2 separate regions of the Homo sapiens genome follow, and region 1 is linked to region 2. The links are contacts of gene promoters, found by promoter capture Hi-C in human tissues and cell types (Jung and others, 2019). All regions are on one chromosome and are shown on one strand. The core of a region is centred on a gene start or on the middle of the fragment in contact, and the rest is flanking DNA. Distances in the headings are between cores, read along the strand shown.

The links. The method cuts DNA at HindIII sites, captures the fragments that hold promoters and counts their contacts. A contact is called where the count stands out against the background at its distance.
Region 1: a contact is called between a fragment that was not itself captured here and the fragment with the promoter of MAMDC2 in region 2, in 1 of the 25 tissues and cell types used here (spleen).

What each region holds. Positions count from the first base shown.
Region 1 is chr9:70,086,961-70,093,496 of GRCh38, reverse strand. The region is part of intron 2 of MAMDC2 (MAM domain containing 2); the gene reads right to left. Among named protein-coding and RNA genes, the nearest start is that of MAMDC2, 46 kb to the right of the region's middle. The HindIII fragment of the contact is 4,157 bases long and covers 1,730-5,886 here.
Region 2 is chr9:70,038,922-70,046,381 of GRCh38, reverse strand. MAMDC2 (MAM domain containing 2) reads right to left here and starts at 2,534. Exons shown (of 14, transcript NM_153267.5): 1 at 2,151-2,534; 2 at 1,685-1,798. The coding sequence starts at 2,184. It overlaps LOC124902179 (a long non-coding RNA gene), which reads left to right and starts at 2,341. Exons shown (of 2, transcript XR_007061571.1): 1 at 2,341-2,428. RefSeq lists a silencer at 2,255-2,549. The HindIII fragment of the contact is 1,989 bases long and covers 1,890-3,878 here.

The sequences.
Region 1 (6,536 bases), core at 2,559-5,058, 46 kb before region 2:
CCGAGATCTTACCACTGCCACTCCAGCCTGGGCAACAGAGCAAGGCTCCATCTGAAGAAAAAAAAAAAAAAAAACTGTCCCTGTATTTAAAATACATGTGGATGATGATGACATCAGAAGATAATGAGTAACTGAATTCACCCTGCAAGTTCCCCAGGTGTACCTGGTATGAAAAAGGTATTCTCCTTCCATAAAATATGTGTCCATTCACAAGACAAGAGATGCTATCTTACCAGTTTTGCTAAGAACACTGCCATCAGCATGGCTGAATATTTTTTCTCATGTATTGTGCAAGGCAATTCTGTCAAACAAAAGAGTTATATACCTTTCAGCTTCATTTAAGCAAGAAGAAAATAGGAGTTCCTATGAAAATTTCACTATAGTACAGATACATAAATAAATATATATACACACACACATATATACATATGTGTGTATGTATGTATGGGTACACATACATATTTGCTTTGATTTGGACTTTCACATTTCAAGTTCTGCATTTTACATCTATTATAAAGGATAAAAGCAAGTAGGAACAAGAATATTCCATTGAAAAAGAAAACGTAGCAGTGGAGGTAAACACATTTCATTTCATTGCATTATAGAGAAGATATGACTTACGATGGTGGGAGCGTAAGATTAGAAATAAGAGTTTAAATGAAGGTAAACCTCATGATATCTGTAAAATGAGCAATCTAATCTAGATTCATGAATATAAAACATTTTTTTCTCCAAACATAATTGAATACAGAAATCCATCTATTAGCAGAGCAAAGAAGAATGGCTGTGATCACCAGGTAGGCAGAATAGTCTTATATAGCCATTTGTTGTCCAGGGCAATTTTGCCTATTAAGTCTGTTTCCTCCCAGTTAACCTTCCTTCCATGAGCCTCTGAAGCTTGATGTCTGAACTCAGGGATGGTTTGGAAACCCCTACTTAGGCAGTCTTGGGTCTTCTCAAATACTGCAGTCTAATACCATGTCCTGCCTGCTCTAAAACTGACTCCTGCTCCTTCCGTCTGTTTTTCCCAGTTTACAGATCTGGCTTGTGTATTCACTCTCTACATGTCTATGTAAGTAACCACATTCGCATTGGCTGAGAAGTCATCACTTGCAAAATAGTCTTTATTGAGTTCAAGAGCCAACATGCTCTCTGGTCCTTCTAATCCAGCTGTTCTCAACCTTGGCTGCACATGGAATCACTGAGGGAGGCCTTGGTCTGCAGTAAAGCCTACACACCTCCCCAGGTGATTCTAATAGTCAAGCCAGATTTGATAAGCACTCTTCTTATCTGCTTACTCTCCTCCTTCTATTCTAACACAGCTGGACTCCAGCCAGACCATATATTCATTGATGGCAGGTTTTTGTCTATTTTACTCAGCGCTTTACCTTTAATGCCAAGTAACATAATAGGTGTTAAATAAATACATGCCAAATGAATTAAGCAGTCTACCCTGCCAGTCATTTACCTAAGGTAAAGATATTTTAAAATTAAGGCAATAAATTTAAGTCCAAGAACAATAAACACTGAAAATGAAGTCCCCGTTATTTGGAAATCTTCCTTAAGTAAGAAAGATAAATGTATGACTATGTGCCTAAGGCTTATGAGAAATAAATCACAGTAAAGTTGGGAGAAAACAAGGCAGTAGGTTTCAATAAGTTGGTTGCCATGGAGACTAGGGTTTTGATGACAATAACACTGATAGCAACTGTGTTCATTCCTGACCAATTTAGAGCACTTAACTATTCACAAAGCACTGGGGCATAATTAAGCCTCATAGCAACCCCATGATACAATTGGACAGTTATCATCCTTCATTTCCTAAATCAGGAAGGTCTGGCTCAGAGAGTATCTGCTGCCTAACAAGCAGCCAGATTCCGGATCCGATTCGGATTGCCAAATTAAGCAATTAAAAATTCGTAAATATGTTCCAAATATCACTGGGGACATACTTATACTAAAAAAATTATTTGATTTTTATTTGAAATTCAAATGTAACAGGGCATCCTGCAACCTCAGGTTCCAGGCCAGTTCTTTATCTGTGAAAAGAGTATTTTAGATTCGAAAGTCATGGTGGACCCTCTTGGATTAAATGGGCTACACTGTGGCTCCTGCCTTCTCTCCCTGACTCTGAGATTAGGTCTTCCTGAAGGCTTTGCACATGTCCAGCTCTTGGCCTGTGACCTACTCCAGCATAGCAGTGGGCTGAGCCGAGCAAGAAAAGAGGGTGGCAAAAACCACACAAATGATGTCTCTCAGTGTTCCAGGGCCAACTCTCCATGTGGACTCTGTGGGGTTTATTTTTAGTAAGTAATACAGAATGATACATAATTCAAAGATATAAGAAACTGAAGCCAAGCCTTCCTCTTACCCTCAGTTTCTGGGACACCCTTCCAGAGATACTTTATTCATGTATAAACACACACAAACATATCTTTAGATATAGCCTTTTAATTTTTCTACAAACAGTTAACATACTATATGCGATTCTGTGCCATGCTGTTCTTCACTGAATATATCTTGGAGATGGTTATATTATCTATCTGTTTCTCTATCTAAAGCTTCCTCATATCTTTAACTGCCACATAGCATAGCTTTCCATTGTATAAATGTACCATAATTTAATTAATTGGTGCCCTTGTGATGCATAATTTTCCAATCTTAAGCTATTAAAAGCAATGTGGTGATAAATCTTCTTGTATTTAGGACTAAGTACGGATTTCTGAGTATAACCATGGAAGAAGACCCTCGAAAGGGAACTGCTGAGTTAAAGGAAATGTGCCATTTATACTTTGGCTAAATGTTCCCACACTTTCATTCCTGAAGTTGTGCCAATTTATGTTGGTAGAAACAATGTATTAGAGCACTTTCCCCATCATCATAAATACAGTGTATGTTACTAAACTTTTTGATATTTAAACAATTTGATAGATAAAAAATGGTATCCCAGTGCCATTGTAATTTGGGTTTCTCTCACTATGAGTTAAATTGAACTTTTTTTTTTTTTTTTTTTGAGACAGAGTCTTGCTCTGTCACCCAGGCTGGATTGCAGTGGTGTGATCATGACCCACTGCAGCCCTGAACTCCTGGGTTCAAGCAATCCTCCCACCTTAGCCTTCCAAGTAGCTGTAGCTGCAGGCATGAGCCACCACACCAGGCCAATTTTTAAACTTTTTGTAGAGAAATTTTAAACTTTTTGTCTCACTGTGTTGCCAAGGCTGGTCTTGAACTCCTGGCCTCAGGTGATCCTTCTGCCTCAGCCTCTCAAAGTGTTGGGATTACAGGTGTGAGCCACCATGCCCAGATGACATCTTTTTGTATGTTTAAAAGCCACTGATATTTTTATGTGTGTGTGTGTGTGTGTGTGTGTGTGACATCCTTGGCCTATTTTTTTAATTGGGTTGTTGGGCTTTTAGTACTGATTTACAAAAATTCTTTATGTATTAAGAAAATTAACTGGATATCTGTCATCCATGTTGTCATGTTCCCCTAGTTCATTCGTTTTTTGATTCATAATCATTTCAATGCAGAACTTAATGAGTTTTGAAAACACCTTCTATTTACATGAGTATAAGACATATTTAGGTTAAAAAGGCTCATTTTCAACAACATACATGATTATCTCCACAACTATAACAGCTACCATTTGCAGGAGGACTTATTATGGGTCAAGTCATGTGCTAATCACTAAATACTAATCTATTTAAGTAATCACTGCAGTCCTATGAGAAATGTACAATTGAGTCATTGTACCAATAGTTCCTAAGATTTATTTGGACCTAAAGCTAGCCTGAAATAAAATTACTAAACCATATGGAGTTTGTATTTGGTGTATTCCCAACTTTTCCATCCAGCTTCTCTCCTCACCACAACATTTCTTCACTCTTTTCTCTTCCCCTCTCCACCCAGAGTCCCCACTCCCCTCCCCTTGTATCTTGTATACATTCTGAGGAAGAGCCTATTTATAATTCCCTAGATTTTCCTGCCAGCTCTCAGCCAGTCCCTACTAGAGTGCACACTGAACAGCTCCCCAAAACTTGTAGAGCACAAAAGCAATTTTTAAGATGCAAAAAATTCAAATATGCATAAAATTAGAGCTACAACTCATTGATATGATAAAGGGCAAGGGATTATTTGCAGAAATGGATGACGTATGAAGCTTCATATTCTGAATGCACATGTTCAGCCCTGTCTAGACTGTGAAGAGCATCAGAAAGCCCCTCTGGAATTTGAAGCATTGTGAATTCTAGAGAACAAGTGCCCAGGATTTGGAGTCAGAAGATGCTGTCCTGGTTTACTCTCTCTGTTAACCATGAGTCCTGGGGTAATAGTGTAGCTGACAGAAAGAGCCTGGATTTTAGAATCAGGTAGCTCTTACTTAGAATAACAACTCAGCCAATCAGTGCATGATTTCAGGAAATGTAATCAACCTCCTCCAAGCCTTAGTTTCTCAGGCGTAAAATGGAGATAATAATATGAACCTCACAGAGACGTTTGTGTAAATTTAATAACATCATGCATGGAAAGTGCCCAGCACAATTCCTGGTGTAGTGTACATTCTCAGTAAAGCATGGTCTCAGATTTTACGTCTGTCAAATCATTGTAATACTATACTATCAAAATATTTTATATTTAAGTCGTAAATAGCAGTCTCCTCAAATTCTATCATTCATGTACCACTTTTGGGGTTTTGCCATATCTGTGCACCAATGGTACTAATATTACTTAATATTTTTCTTTAACTGTACTCATCTTTGAAAAATGTAGCATTTATTTTAGTTGGTTTCAGGAAAATTAGCATATTATCCATGAACTTGGGAGTAGTTGTACTGGTGAATCTAGTATGTTTAAAAATCAATACATAATTATTAAAATAGAAAACTATGGCCACATGCCCCCTGAAATAATCTCATGAACCACCATTGTATGCCTACTACACTTTGGAAAACACTCATTTACGTGAAAGTTTGTTATTATTATATTTTCAACCTTTCCTTTTCAGGACTTGGAAGCTAAGGCCCAGAGAGGAGGAGAAACTTGATCAAAGTCAATCAGACAATGCAGAATCGAGAAAAGTACCTGGACCTCTATGCCCATGCTTCTAGCAGCCAGCCTCCTAAAATACCTCTAGTTGAAGCCAAAGTTAGAATCCTTCTACGAAACTACAGGATTAAAATGGTGATTTTCTGAAGCAATCTTGTTTTTCCCCCATTGTTCTTACCTTTCTTCACCTAGGAGACCTAAAAGGCAGGGTTTTCTTCCCAGAACATGTCTAATAGTGCATACCTGAGATGACCCAGCTATAAGCCTTTCTTGGTTTAACTGTAGGAGCCCAGGGGTAAATGGAATGGAACCAAGGAAGGCAGAGAGATTGGGGTTGTCAACATCATATCCTGCTTAGAGACTTCTGTAAAAGTTGTCTGATCTTATTTTACTTTCCCAACTGAACACTCTAAAGTGTGTCAAGACTTCTAGATGTTTCTACCCATTGCCTCCAAAAATTTAGATATGTTTAAATTCTATGCCTTTTAAAAAAATCAAGAAATTCCTAAATACTCCCTAATTGAGAAATAATAAAATTTAAAAGTTCGTAATAGAGAGCAGTTTGGGGACCTACAGAAGTAGCAAGAGTGCAGGCAGCTCTGCAATGGGTTCTCTTGCCTTTGTTTCTAAGTATCAAACTCAGAAACCAACTAAGGGTTGAGGATGTTGCAGTAGATGCATGTTGTCTGTGCCTTCTTAGTATCCATTCCCTGACATTTCTGGTTAACAGTATCCTGGTTTTTCTTTGGAAAATCTGCCCTTCCTTATTTTCAGTCCAAATGATTTGAATGGGGCTGACTCTGACCCTTAACTCCCTTTCCAGGAATGGTTACATGACCCAGGCTTGACCAATCAGATCATCCAAACCCTTTGCCACAGTGATTGGTCCAGGGATACATGCATGAGCCAGCTCAGGTAAATGAGACTCAATTATAAGAATTTTGTTAGCGCAATTGGGAAAAAGAAGTTTTCTTTCCATGAGAACTATCAGCTATAAGAATGTTGGATGCTTCCATCTGCTGGAGTCCATGAAGAAGGTCCATGAAAATGAAGCCAGCACAACAACACAGAGCTAAGACATACAAAGAGATGGAGATTAAATTGAATGGAACTTTTAAGCCCCTACATGCCCTTGAAGCCAGATATCCCTGAACTTTTAATTTATATTAGTTGATAAAGTCCTTCTTTAGCTTAAGCCAATTTGAATTAGAGTATTTTTCACTTGGGGTCCAAAAGAGCTCTCAATACAAAAGTCTGACTGAGTGCATGATGTGCTGGTTTCAACCTCAAGGGAACAGGGAAAGGGAAAGAAAGAGGCAGAGGTTGTGAACAGGACAGTAGAAGGTGGTCAGGAGACAAATATCTGGACTCAACTTTGTCCCTACTGTGTGGCCTTGAATAGTGAGTTAACCACTCCGAGCCTCAGTTTCCCCATCTGGAAAAAAAAGTTAGTGGACAGTCACTAGTTCTCAGACAGAACTCTGTAGCAGCGA
Region 2 (7,460 bases), core at 1,285-3,784:
CACTCTCGGGTCCTGCAAGTAGCTCCTTCACCCTAGTGCCAGACCTACTCAGAGCCAACAACAGCACAGGTTGTGTGTGTGTGTACACAGACTGTGGAAGTCGGCAGTTCTCAAAGTGTAGTCCCGAGACCAGCATCATCAGCATCACCTGGGAACTTGTTAGAAATTCTCAGGCCCCCTGAATCAGACACTCAGGAAGTGGGGCCCAGCAATCTGTGTCTTACAAGCCCACCAGGTGATTCTGATGCAGCTGAGGTTTGAGAAGCCCCGTGCTGGAGGAGTGTGCTCTCCAAAGCCAGTCTCGTGGCATTTCTAAGGCCATCTCCCGCAATGCTTCCATACAGCCAGTATAGGGAAAGGGTGAGTGGCAAGATTACAGAGACTTTCCTAAAGCCATCAGCAAGATAGGAATCCCTCGAATAATAAATCAAGAATTGCTTTTTCCCAGCCACCCCTAAGTAGACTGTAGTAGTCAAGACTTGGCAATTGTTGGATAAAGATGGAGATTACTACTGAACCAGTTCCTTCCTGTTTCTTCCTAACTAGACACTCAGAGTTAGCCACTCAGTGACACTGTGATATGGACTAGCCATTTGAATATTCTATGGCTGAGATTCCTTCCTCTGTAAAACGGGTCCAACATCACCTACCTGTGAGGGTCAGAGAAGCTAATGTATGCAGAACCCTGAGTAGAAGCCTGGGGCAGAGTGAGCTGTGGTGACAGTTCATACATCTAACCAGGGGTTCCGGGCTCCATCCTCCCCCAGGGAGCGAGGTGGGAGGATCTGCGGCCTGAGGACAATTGAGTGGGGAAGGAGGTGAGCTGGTTTCATCTAGGGTACCATGTTTTTTAAAGAAGGCTATTTTCCAATCCAAATAGTCTGTGGGCATCAGGCTTCACTGGTGGTGACAAAAGAGAGAGAAAGGAAAGAAGGGACACCCAGTGCCGCCTGCCATTGGGTACTGAGAACCACACTTTAAAACAAAAAACAAAAAAAACTATATAAAGGCAAGATGACACTTCAGAAGACCCCACATTTAAACTTTGTCCTTGGGACCCAAACAGTATAGAGTAGTAAGACAATGACCACCAGTGAGACAGGGACCCCAGGCATTTGGCAGTGTACATGGTTTCTTTTGTCCAGGGCAGGATTACAAACAGGAGTGTGAGGATGAAATCATGCAGCAAAAAACACTGTCAGGGTCAAGGCAGACGTGATGTCTTAGCACTGACGTCCCATCACAGAATTGTGGAACCATTTCTGCAAAGCTGAAGGAGAACTAGTCCCATGCAACTTTTCCCAACTCACAGACATGTCTCCTGAGGACCAGAAAGGTTGCTGGCCTGCAGAGGCACACAGCTGGTGTGCCTGCAGAGGCCCACAGCGGAGAACAATCATTAGCTGTGCTCCGTTTCTCCCTTCCATTAAGGAGTGCTGGGGTGAGACGCAAATTTTAAGCTTCTACCCATAGGCCAGGTAAACAAAGGGCGGCCTCCCGCCCGCCCCGTTCCTGCCTCGGCCATCCCTTGCAGCACAGCTGAGGGCTTGAAGGAGGATCCATGACTCACACTTTTCTTGCCGCGGAGAATTAACTCCAAGATAACATTACCCATGTGGGAAAAAAAAGCAAGCCATCAAGGAAGAAAGTTCACTTCGCGCCCCTCTCCACCGAGCCTCCTTACCTTCCTCATTTAAAATCCACGGCAGAGAGGCCAACACGGAGTCAAAGCCGCAAGTGCTCTCTTCAAAGGCACAGGACCCAGCGGGCAGGTCGAGGGCACCGGCGAGCTGCAGGGCTGCGGGCACAAAGCGAGTTTCAGTTCGAGCTCCACCCAGGAGCCTTTGCACCAACTCGGGGAGCCCCAGGGGGACTACCTGGTGAAAGTGGGGGAAAGACGAGCGGGAGGGGGCGGGAGAGGGATGCAGTACCTGTCCCCCAGCATCCCCGGGCGCCTCCACTGAGCGACCCCACGCCCACCCCCACCCCCACCCCAGGCTTGGCCAGGGGAGGGAGTTAGCGGCTGCGGAGGATCAGGAGGCGCCCTCGGATGGCCCAGCCCAGCACGGTGAGCCGGACCCCCGGGGGCAGCAGGAGCGGGGGCGAGTCGTCAGAGCGCCCCCGGGGTTGTCCCGGGGTCCAGGCCTTACCTTGCAACGCCAGGAGGACGCCCCTTAACAGCATGGTCGCGTTTCAGGGAGGATGACTAGGAAGGGGTGCAAGTTGCCAGCCCGCTGGGACTGGCTGCTCCTAGTGAAAGGGATCGTGGGAGGCGGGGGCGCCGGGGACCCAAGGAGGGAGAAGTCGAGAGGCAAAGCTTGCGCTCTGAGCTGCCCAACTTTGCAGAGCGGCTCCCGGAGCCGAGCGGTATGCTGGAAGGTGCTCGAATGGAGAGCGCCAGCGCCCCGGCGCTGAGCAGCAGCCTCAGGTCAGACCGCGGCCCAGCTGGTCCTGGGCGACGATGGGGCTGGACAGGGAGGAGACAACTGCACACTTTGAAAGGCCAGCCACGACTGGCTGGGAGAGGAGAGGTCGGCCCGCAGTGCCTTCGCTCAGGATTTTAAAGCTTGGGACCAGAGCCCTTGCAGACACTTGGAAGGGGCAGGCCTTCCAGGAGTCCCTCCGCTGGGTTGGGACCCGAGGCTCCCGCCCCGCCCAGCCGCGGTGGGAACTCGCTTATTTCTGGGGACAGCTTCCCTGCATCTGGCATGTCAGTCCCGCAGGGCTGGCCCTAATTTTAACTTCTTCTCCCCAGAATGAAAGAGGGTGGAATTCTCCAAGGACAGCCTGGAGGAAAATTTGGAAACGGTTGGGTGGAATAAGCTTTATATCTAAGGAGTTTCAGCGTTTACGGTCCAGCAATGCTAACCCTGGAATACCACCCCCACTTTTTTTAGCCGGTGGAATGTCTGGCATGCCTGGTGCTCAGCATTCCCTCCGTCCGGTGAAATGGGGGCATTCCTTCTCTCCAAAGAGCCATGATAGATTGATTAATGGGAGGCTTTACACTGGGAGGGGGTTGTTGGGGAGGGAGTTACTTCTGAGGAAGCTGTTTGCTTTGGGCACTAAGTGGGTCTCCAACAATATTCTTTTCTTGTAAAGAGTTCTTCTTCCTCCCCTCCTCTTCCTCCTCCTCCTCCTCCTTTCTCCCATTTATAATTTTGTGCAGGCAATTTTGTGAGGAGGGCAGTGGTTTTAAAACCTGAGGGTGCATCAGAATCTGCTGAAGGGCCTCACCCTCCGTTTCCGATCCAGTAGCTCTGGAGTGGGCCTGAGAGGCTGCACGTCCCTAATAAGTTTCCAGAGGCTGCTGCTGCCGCAGCGGGTTTGGAACAATACTTTGAGGACCACTGGCCTAACAAACTCCAGTTGAGCCATCAGTTCAACCTGCTCCCATGCCTTCACCTGGCTTCCAGACCGCTGGGTTTCCTGGTCTTTCATTGGCCGCCGCTTCTCGGCCTCTTTGCGTTACCTCTGTAACCCCTTAACATGAGAGTGCCTCCAAGTTCTTCCCTGTCACTCCTGTTTCTTTCTCTATCCAGCCCCTCAATGCTGTCCTCAAGTCTCATAGTTTTAGATACCAATGATAGCCTGATAACTCCCACATTTATATTTCTAACCCAGACTACTCACTAACGCCAGACTCTTCGATCTCATTGCCACCTCAACATTTCCAATCGGATGCTTCAGAGCTATTTCATACTTAACAGGTCCCAACATGAAGGCTGCATATTTCTTGCCAAACCTGCCCGTCCCCTGTGTCTTCCTCATCTCAGTAAAAGAACTATTTTCCTCCAGTTGTTCAGGAGAGAAAACTTGGAGGCATCTTCAGCTCATCCGTTCCTGTCAGACATTGCCAATTTCTATCAGCTCAGGATTCAAAACACAGCAGATGCTGACCATGCTCTGTGCCCATGGTGGTGATGCCTTGGTTGGTCCAAGCTGCCCTTGCCATCAACCTGGGATACCGCAGTGGCCTCCTGACCACGGTCTCCCTTCATTTTCTGCCCTGCCCACCCTACTCTATTCTGAACACACTAGTCAGGGTTATCCTTTTAATACAGAAATTGGGCCATGTCACTCCTTAGCTCAAGACCCAACAAGTTCCCAAGTCATTTAGTAAAGTCCAAAGTCTTCACGATGACCAACCAGGCCCTATAGGACCTGCTCCACCCTTTTCTTTCTTTTCTTGCTTTCCTTCTTTTTCTTTTTTTGAGACAGAATCCCACCCTGTCACCAGGCTGGAGTGCGATCTCTGTTCACTGCAAAGTCCACCTCCCAGGTTCAAGCAATTCTCCTGCCTCAGCCTCCCAAGTAGCTGGGATTACAGGCGTGTGACACCACGCCCAGCTAATTTTTGTATTTTTAGTAGAGACAGGGTTTCACCATGTTGGCCAGGATGGTTTCAATCTCTTGACATCATGATCCACCTGCCTCGGACTCCCGAAGTGCTGCGATTACAGGCGTGAGCCACTGCACCCAGCCCCACCCTCTTATTTCTCTGACTTCAATCACCCTGCTTACTCTTCTCTAGCCACACAGACCTCTTGGCTGATCCTCAAACACAGTCCAGCTATCCTTTCAGAATTTTGCACTGGCTGTTCTTTCTGCTCAAAATGCTCTTCCACAAAGAGCCACACAACTCACCGCCTAATGAGGTCTTCACTCAGATGTCACTTTCAGTATTAGAAAATTAGTAACCTTCTCCCTAATAAGGAAAATATATCTGGAATCCTTTTTTAAAGGTAGGAACAAATTTTCATGTGTTTTCTGTAAACAATGATTCAAATGGTCAAAAATTTATTCATTAGTGTGTGCTATTTGGTGTATATGTATCTTTTTTTATTTATATGCTTTGCCTCAGGTAGTAGCTAATAATAACATTTATTGTGTTTACCATTATAAATGTTTTATGTAGATAATCTCATTTAAGCTTCACAAAATCTCTACAGGATAAATATGTTCATTATCCCCATTTAATAGATGGGGAAACTGAGGCACAGAGTTCAGTGACTGTGGACAGTAGAGACAAAACTCAAACCCAGATCTGCTTTATTCCAAAAGCCTATTTTCTCAACCAGTACAGGACTTCTCTCACTTGGGTCTTATATTCTTTTTTTTTTTGACTTCTTGATCACAGATGGTGCTAAATATCTGATGAATTTCATCACACTACTTAACTAAAAATTCAAAGACAGTTATACATTCAGTCGAAACCTCAAAACATTATTTTCAACTAAAGAAGTTTTCAGCAACAATCAAACTGGTGCTCCTTTTTCCAGATACTTAAGGAGTATTTCAAAGTTTTAGAATTGCCTTAGATTCATGTCGTATGTTCTAAGTCATAGGAAAATGAAAAACTTCAAAGCCCTAAAGAGATCCTTCCAAAATTTAAAATATGATTTACAACCTTAACGTGACATTGTGTATTGCCACCTATGGGAACAGAATCATACATAAGTACAAACTCAGACCAAATTTTCTATTTTGCATATAATTGTTTGATCCCAAGAATATATGATCCTTAGACATTGGCACAAGTTAGAATGTCTGGGAAGCAGACTCTGATTTGAAGTTTAATGTGCAGGGTGTTTAATCAGGAGTACCTTGGGATCAGTGCCATGGAAGGGAGGGAGAGGAAGCAGGAAAGGGTGGAGGGAGAATTGGAGTTGCAATGCAAATCCCACAAAGCTTCTTTCAATCCCCCAAGGAACTATGGAGTTAAAATGGCCTATCTAACTTGTCTCATGTTAGGCTGAAATGAAAGGGCATTTGTACTGCTGTCTCCATCTGTCACTGGTTGTGGCCTATGCTGGGACAGAAGTGATCTCCAGTGAGGCAGCTCTCTGCACTGGGGAGGATCAGAAGTTGAAGGCCGATGACAATACTCCAAGCCGCTGGGACTAAAAGTCATTTCTTGAAGGGGGATCTGGACAGCATAAAAATGCCTACCACAGACGTTTTGCAGAGAAAGGAAAAAATATTGTATGTGGCCTAAGTCAGGATGCAGGGAAAAAGACTGAGGAGGGAAGCCAGAGAATCTAGAAACTACGTCAACCAACTTCCTTTGGTCACTAATCATAGCACCCACATGGTACCCTCTTATTACTTGGGAAAACAGGATCAGGTCCCAAGGAACCCAGAATGCTATTCTCCAAGATTTAGCTTAAGCAACTGATCAAATAACACATATCAAGTTCTGGCTTACAGAAAGCACTCAGTACTTAGGTATTGTAATAGGTTGAATGGTGGCTCAAAAGATACATCCGTATCCCAGAATCTGCAAATGTGACCTCATTTGGAAAAAGGGACTTTGCTAATTTAATTAAGTTAGGGATCTTGGGATGAGATCATCCTGTATTACCAGGTGGGCCCTAAATCAATGGCAAGTATCCTTATAAGAGTCAGAAGAAAAGGCACAGACACATGTAGGAAATGGTCACGTAAAGATGGAGATGGCATGTAAAGAGATTGGAGTGATGCAGCCCCAAGCCAAGGAATAACAAATTCTCCCCTAGAGCCCCAGAAGACTGTATTCTGCAGACACCTTGATTTGGGGCTTCTGGCCTCTGAAACTGTGAGTGAATAGCTTTCTGTTCTTTTAAGCCACCCGGTTTGTAGTAATTTGTTCTGGCAACCATAGAAAACTAATATAGAGTGCATTAAGTAAACACATGCCAGGCACTTAACATGCATTATCTCATTTAATCCATGCAATATCCCTATGAGGTGAATATCATTATTGTCCCCATTTTATAGACTAGGAGACAGGACCAGAGGGGGTCAATTAACCTGCTCAAAGTCACACGTCCAGCCAGCATGCAGCAAGGATTTGATCCCAGATGCCCACTTCTCCTGGCTATCCACTATGCTGCCCCTAAATGCTTCCTCCTTACACAGGCCTGTCTCTCCTAATGAGGGCTGCCTACACCACACACAGACACTATGCCCTGCTCTCTCTGTGGGTTCCTGTATGATGCTCACCTCTCACAGAGCCTGCCCATCCTCTCTGCTCTTTGCCAATCTGTTCCTTGCGCCCTCCAGGTACCTTTCACCAGGGGCTCTGCTCCTTGTTGTACCACTTCTAGCCTGGAGATCACCAAGTTCTTGCTTCTAATTTTCTGGGTCAAGGTGAGGAAGATGAAGCATTGCTGCTCCTCTCTATCCAGTGTCTTCCCACATAGCCAGGTGAGGCATTGGGGGGTGTGAGCAAATCTGTGGGAAGAAAGCAAGAAAGCCAGCATTTATGATTGCACCTTTGACTGCACTACAGAGGTTAGCCAATCTCAGAGTCTGTCTTTACTGCCCACTTTCCCTTCTGTTTTCTTTCTCTCCTTGTTAGTCTCACGCAGTGTCATGCCATGATAAGCTCAGCAAACATTTCCTGAGCACCTACTGTGAGCCAGACACTATGCTAGGGGCTGGAAATCCAGGGGTCAAGAAGACACATCCTCTGCTGC